Linked DNA regions of Homo sapiens: region 1 is linked to region 2. Evidence: promoter capture Hi-C in 16 types of primary human blood cells and fetal thymus (Javierre and others, 2016). All regions are on one chromosome and are shown on one strand. Each heading gives the region's core, a stretch centred on a gene start or on the middle of the fragment in contact. The rest is flanking DNA. Distances are from core to core; before and after follow the strand shown.

Evidence for each region. The method cuts DNA at HindIII sites, captures the fragments that hold promoters and counts their contacts. A CHiCAGO score of 5 or more calls a contact.
Region 1: a contact is called between a fragment that was not itself captured here and the fragment with the promoter of MORN1 in region 2, in 2 of 17 cell types (endothelial precursors and naive B cells). The highest score is 12.4, in endothelial precursors.

Annotation. Positions count from the first base shown.
Region 1 is chr1:3,421,144-3,423,843 of GRCh38, reverse strand. All of the region lies in intron 12 of PRDM16 (PR/SET domain 16), which reads right to left. Among named protein-coding and RNA genes, the nearest start is that of ARHGEF16, 32 kb to the left of the region's middle. RefSeq lists an enhancer at 2,680-2,700. The HindIII fragment of the contact is 1,664 bases long and covers 469-2,132 here.
Region 2 is chr1:2,389,901-2,392,824 of GRCh38, reverse strand. It overlaps MORN1 (MORN repeat containing 1), which reads left to right and starts at 1,271. Exons shown (of 14, transcript NM_024848.3): 1 at 1,271-1,367; 2 at 2,829-2,900. The coding sequence starts at 1,292. RER1 (retention in endoplasmic reticulum sorting receptor 1) reads right to left here and starts at 984. Exons shown (of 7, transcript NM_007033.5): 1 at 867-984. RefSeq lists silencers at 699-998, 1,099-1,208, 1,339-1,408, 1,569-1,698 and enhancers at 240-1,112, 981-1,275. The HindIII fragment of the contact is 4,806 bases long and covers 1-2,924 here.

The sequences.
Region 1 (2,700 bases), core at 51-2,550, 1.0 Mb before region 2:
CATGGCACAGCACACAGAAAGTCTACCCACTGCAGCAGGATCCTGGCCGGGGGGGCCTGGTAGCAGCTGGAGACCAGGCCAGGGCCTCTGTGGGAGCCTCTGTGGAGGCACCAGGATGGGGCAGGGTTTGTTCACCCGGAGTGGGTGTGGCTGTTCTAAGCACAGTGGCCTTCGTTCCCACAGAGGACAGGACTCCGAGAGGCCCCACCCCGCCCCGACCGGTGCCGGTGGCCCGCTCCAGAGCAGCATACTGGTCACATGCCCTTGTCACATGGATGGGGACGTGCCTGGTGACACTCGGGAGTCCTGGCCTCCCAGACCGGGAGGGGCTGTGTGGCTCGGCCTTCTCGGCACGGTGCTGCCCTGTACAGGAGGGGCCTGGGCTGGTGTTTGCTATCACAAAAGCCTGGCGAGGGAGTCTGACCTGCCATCAACACACCCGCAGGGGCCTCCCCAAGGCAGGAAGCTTCAGTCCCACACCTTCCGGGTGCTGCTGCCGGGCCCAGGAGCTCAGCATTCCCCACGTGCAGGGGCTGCGGCCGTGAGAAACTGTCCTTGGAATCTCAGAGCCTGCGAGTCTCCCCCAACTCCCCAGGCTGCCTGGTAAAACCTAGCAAGTCTGAAAATGGGTCCCCTAGAGAACGGGAGGCAGTCCTGGGAGAAGGGCACTCCTCTCCCACGCCTGGCCGAGGCATATCCCCATCCCACTTCGTCCCAGCAAACTTCCCTGGTGCTGCCCTAAGGCTTCATCCACTCAATTCCTGAACCTTCCAACCTTTGCCGGAGGCCAGGCTCACTCTGGCCTCTTCAACAGTAGACAGGAAAAGAAGCATTGGTGATCGAAGTCCCTGAGCTCCCCGAAGTGACCCTCAGCCTTCTCTGCTCCTGATCCCAGGGGCCTGGCCTGTGGGCTTCTTCTCTGGGAGCCCCTGCTCCTGCCCGGGTCAGCTGAGCTGCCTCCGGGCACCCGGGTCCCAGCGTCTCCTCCCACAGCCCAGTGACAGGCAGCGCCCTGGCTTGGACTGGCCATCCACAAAGCCTGCCCTGGGCGGCGCTGCAGTTTTGTTTGACTCGGCCTGTGAACTCACACAAGAATAAGGCCGAGGATGGAGCCCTTTCGGCAGCAGGGTTGGAGATGCTTGGGTGCCCCCCTACCCGACGTGTCCCACACAATCTCCCAGAAAGGAGGGATTTTACACCCTCCAATGCATTTTCTCACATCCCCCACCCTGACACATCCTTAGACTGGAATGGTGGTGCCTGGCCCTGGGACCGCCATGCTTTTGAGGCTGACTGACTGCTGAGAAAGGACACACTGGACTCTGCGTCTCCAGCCCGGATGCAAAGCACCTGCCAGTCTGAGCATTCAGGCTCTGCCCAGCCAGAGGCTTCCCACCCAGCTGGGGCCATGTGCCCCTCTGGCATGTTGAGGCAGCCCAATCTGTCTGCCTGCCTGACTGTCTGTCTGCCTGCCAGTCTGCCTGCTTGCCAGTCTGTCTATCTGCCTTCCTGCCTGTCCATCTGCTTGTCTGTCTGCCTGTCTGTCTGCCTGCCTGTCTGTCCATCTGTCTGTCCACCTGCCTGTCTGTCTGCCTTCTTGCCTGTCTGCCCTGCCTGTCTGTCTGCCTGTCTGTCCATCTGTCTGTCTGCCTACCTATCTATCTATCTGCCTTCCTGCCTGTCTGCCCTGCCTGTCTGTCTGCCTGTCTGCCTGCCTGTCTGTCCATCTGTCTGTCCACCTGCCTATCTTCCTTCCTGCTTGTCTGCCCTGCCTGTCTGTCTGCCTGTCTGTCCATCCATCTGTCCATCTACCTGTCTGTCTGCCTTCCTGCCTGTTTGCCTGTCTGTCTGTCTGCCTGTCTGTCCGCCTGCCTGTCTGTCTTCCTGTCTGTCCGCCTGCCTGTCTGTCTGCCTGCCTGTCTGTCTTCCTGTCTGTTTGCCTGCCTATCTTCCTGTCTGTCCGCCTGCCTGTGTGTCTGCCTGTCTGTCTGCATGTGTGCTCAAACACGGCTCATTCAGTTCCTGGTTTCTTTGGAAATGCAGAGACTTTTGCAGAAAGTCCACCTAATGGCTCTTGCATAAACCCTAGCAATTGTGGATCCGAGGTAAGAAATGGGATTGGAAAAGAAGCTTGTTCATAAAACTGGAGAGCAAGTCCCTTGTGTGAAGCTCTGGGGCCGGGGAGAGCCACGAACAGGGCTGTGCGTTCAATTTGGTTGCAGAGAGCCCTGAACGTGGCCCTCTCTTGCTTCTAATCTAAATAAATGGCCCAGACAGAGAAGTCCATTTGAAATTTAGGGGAGCCGTGAGCCCAGGGCTGCGAGGGAGCAGAGTTCTCCGAGCAGCTGGGGTCTGCGTTGTAAATAAGCTGACAAGCGGCCAGTGAAATTGATGGTCTCACTGCGTAAAATAACACGCCCGTGAGCTCCAAAAGGAAGGAGAACGTGCAGGGTAGCCTGGCCCTGGTGCAATGCGGAGGGCCTTGAGAGGACCTTGCTGTGACCGTGCCTGCTGCACTCCCAGAGAAGCCATTGGCAGGGGAACAACAGAGTATGGGCAGGTCAGGGGGGGTGGCCAGGGCCCCCGAGCCCCTGAGCACTGGGCAGCGGCATCCTTCCTAGGATCCAGTGAGGTCTCCTGCAGCCACTACAGGGGGATCTGCTTTTGGTGACTGTAAAAGTGAGGGAAGAGGAAGAAAGA
Region 2 (2,924 bases), core at 22-2,521:
TATATCTCCACCTGGCTCTGACACACTGTTACCGCCGTCGCCGTCACCTCAGGCATACGGCAGAAGCCATGTGAGAGTCTGAATTACTGAGAACCCTTTATCCACTTACGGGGATAACTGCATCTTCCTGGGAAATGTCAACTCAACTAAAAATAAAGTGCTTCCAGGACTAGCGGCCAGTCTCTACTCTTCATAAAGGGAAAAGGGCAAAAGCCCACTGAAGGTACTTAGGCTGAAAGCAGCCCTCTGTGCTGTGAGACACCTGGCAGAGAAACGAACGATACCTTTATCAGTGGGGCCACAGACCAGTACTAAGTCAGCCTGGAGAATTTATGATTTTATTGCCTATTTAGAATACGATCAAAACCGATGTAACTAGTTTCCCTTCAGCCCGTCAGTAACGCCTTCACCCCAGAGCTTAACACTAAATCCTACAGATAAGCGCTGACCTGGACGCAGGATGGGGACAGGGCACATTACTCTGGAATACAGCCCAACTCGCAGCGCTGTGGGGGCCGCGACTGCCCGCTTCCCCCAGATGCCAAGCAGGGGATGCGGACGAGATGCGGCCCGGGTGGCTCGAGGGCTGCAGCCCCCGCCCGGCCCCTCTCCCGCTCCCCCGACCCTCGCAGGCCCCAGGGCTCCGCCGCACCCCCCAGCACCCCGTCCCGGGCCCGACCCCGAGGCGCGACCCGTACCCCTCAGGGCCGCGGGTCGGGAACACGGTCCCCGCGGCCACCCGGGCCCCGACGGCCCTCCCCGCCCGGCCCTCAGCGCGGCCCCGCCCGCCCGCGGCCTTGACAGCCCGGAAGAAGCGGAGGCGGCGCTGCCCGGCCGTTCCCGCGCCACGCAGCCCTTCCTGGCACCTCGCAGCTCCGCTACGGCCGAGCCGCGGTCTCCCTCACGGCCGCGGGAAGGAGGACGGCGGGGCACGGGCGGCCGCAGGCGCTGCGCTCCGGCTCCGGGAAGCTGCAGCGAGCACTTCCGCTCCGTCCTCCGCGGCGCCGCCTCCAGGGCCCCCAAGATGGCGCGAGGGCGGGGCCAAGGGCTCCAACCATTTCCGCTTCCGGCGCAGACGCGCAGGCCGTTGGCGGGCGGGCCTCCCGGCGGAAGAGACGACAGCGGCGGAAACGCGCACAGGCGCAGCTGCGTCCTCTGGCTCCGGGCCCGGCTAGCTTCGCTCCAGAGATTGCGCGGGCTCAGGGACTAGGCCCGTGGCCACACCCCCCCTTGCGACAAAGACCAATGGAAGCGGGCGTTGCTGGTCGCTAAGAGAACCCTCGGCGGCAAGATGGCAGCGGCGGGCGAGGGCACCCCGAGCTCCCGCGGGCCGCGTCGGGACCCGCCTAGGCGGCCGCCCCGGAACGGTAACGACTGCGGGCCACGGGACAGGTCGCTGGCTGCCCTGGGCTCCATTCAGGGTGCGATCGCTCTACGCCCTCGACCCCCAAATGCTCACCTCGGAAAGTAGAGGTCCAGGTGCCGCGGCGGAGCCAGGGCCGCCCCCGCGTCCCCCACTCCCACAGGACTCGCCGTGCGCCTCGGGCTCGGCTCGCACCCTTCCCCGAGCCCTCCTCCCGCAGCAGGCCAAGCCCTGCAGGGGGTCGCCCCCCGCGGGCTCCTAGCCGGGAAGACCGGGTTCCGGCCGCAGCCTCACAGCCAGCGGGACCTGGGGTTGCCATGGGGATCCCGAAGCCCAGGACTTGGGGCGAGGGCAGGCGCAGGAGCAGCACCAAGCCTCCTGACTTCCTGGCCGGTGCTGTCCAGAAACGCTAGGACGCGTTTCAAAAGCAGTTTTTGCCTGTACTTCCAGCACTTTGGGAGGCCGAGGCGGGTGGATCACCTGAGGTCAGGAGTTCGAGACCAGTGTGGCCAACATGGCGAAACCCGGTCTCTACTAAAAAATACAAAAATTGGCCCGGGGTGGTGCCTCCTGTAGTTCCAGCTACTCGGGAGGCTGAGGCAGGAGAATCGCTTGAACCCAGGAAGCGGAGGTTGCAGAGAGCCGAGATCGCGCCGCTGCACCCCAGCCTGGGCGACAGAGCAAGACTCAGTCTCAAAAAAAAAAAAAAGAGCAGGTTTTGATAGGAACTGTTTCTAGAATCAAATAAACGGGTCTGGAATGAACTCAGAGCTAACACTACTATCTTCAGGTAGAACCTGACCCTGATTTGGGACAGATACAGTAGCCTGTAGTAACCCCCTGCCCTCCTCCCCGACATTTTCCCATAAACCCTGCCCACAAAATGTGCCTGAGGAGCTGGTAGGGAGGGAGCCCTGCCCATTCCTGGAACTGCAGGAGTTGGCGGGTGGCACACCCAGCAACTAGGAGGAGATGAAGCCGGCCAGGCCATCCTTGGGTATGAGTGTGGATTTTCTCCCCAGCGATAGGAGGCCACTGAAGGGCCACGGCAGGGGATGGGAGAGTCTGCTCCTCCCCTGTGTGCCTCACTGACACTGCCGCTCTGCCTTCCCCTGGCTCACTCATCTCCTGCAACAAGGCTCCCAACCTGCTCCTCACCACCTCCCGAGCACCTCTGGTCTCTCAAGGACCTGCAGTTGTTTCAAGCCAGCCCTCCTCTTACTGGGCCTGTCTTCTCTGCACCAAGTAGGTCCTCATCCTTGTCACATAAACAAATGAGCAAATGAATGGCCCAACAGTCGACAGGAGAGCTCATGAGCCCCACAGGTCGCCTCTGGTCTGCTGAAGGTGACGTGTACCAACCCCTTGAAGGCCCTCAAGGGAGCTGCACTCCCTCCTTCAGCACTGGAGAGCATCCCTCATCTCTGTGTCTGTGCTTACCTGTGTGTGTCTTCTCAATACTCAGGTTATGGTGTCTACGTATACCCAAATTCCTTCTTTCGATATGAAGGAGAATGGAAAGCAGGGAGGAAGCACGGTGAGAAGCATCTGTGGTCTCTTC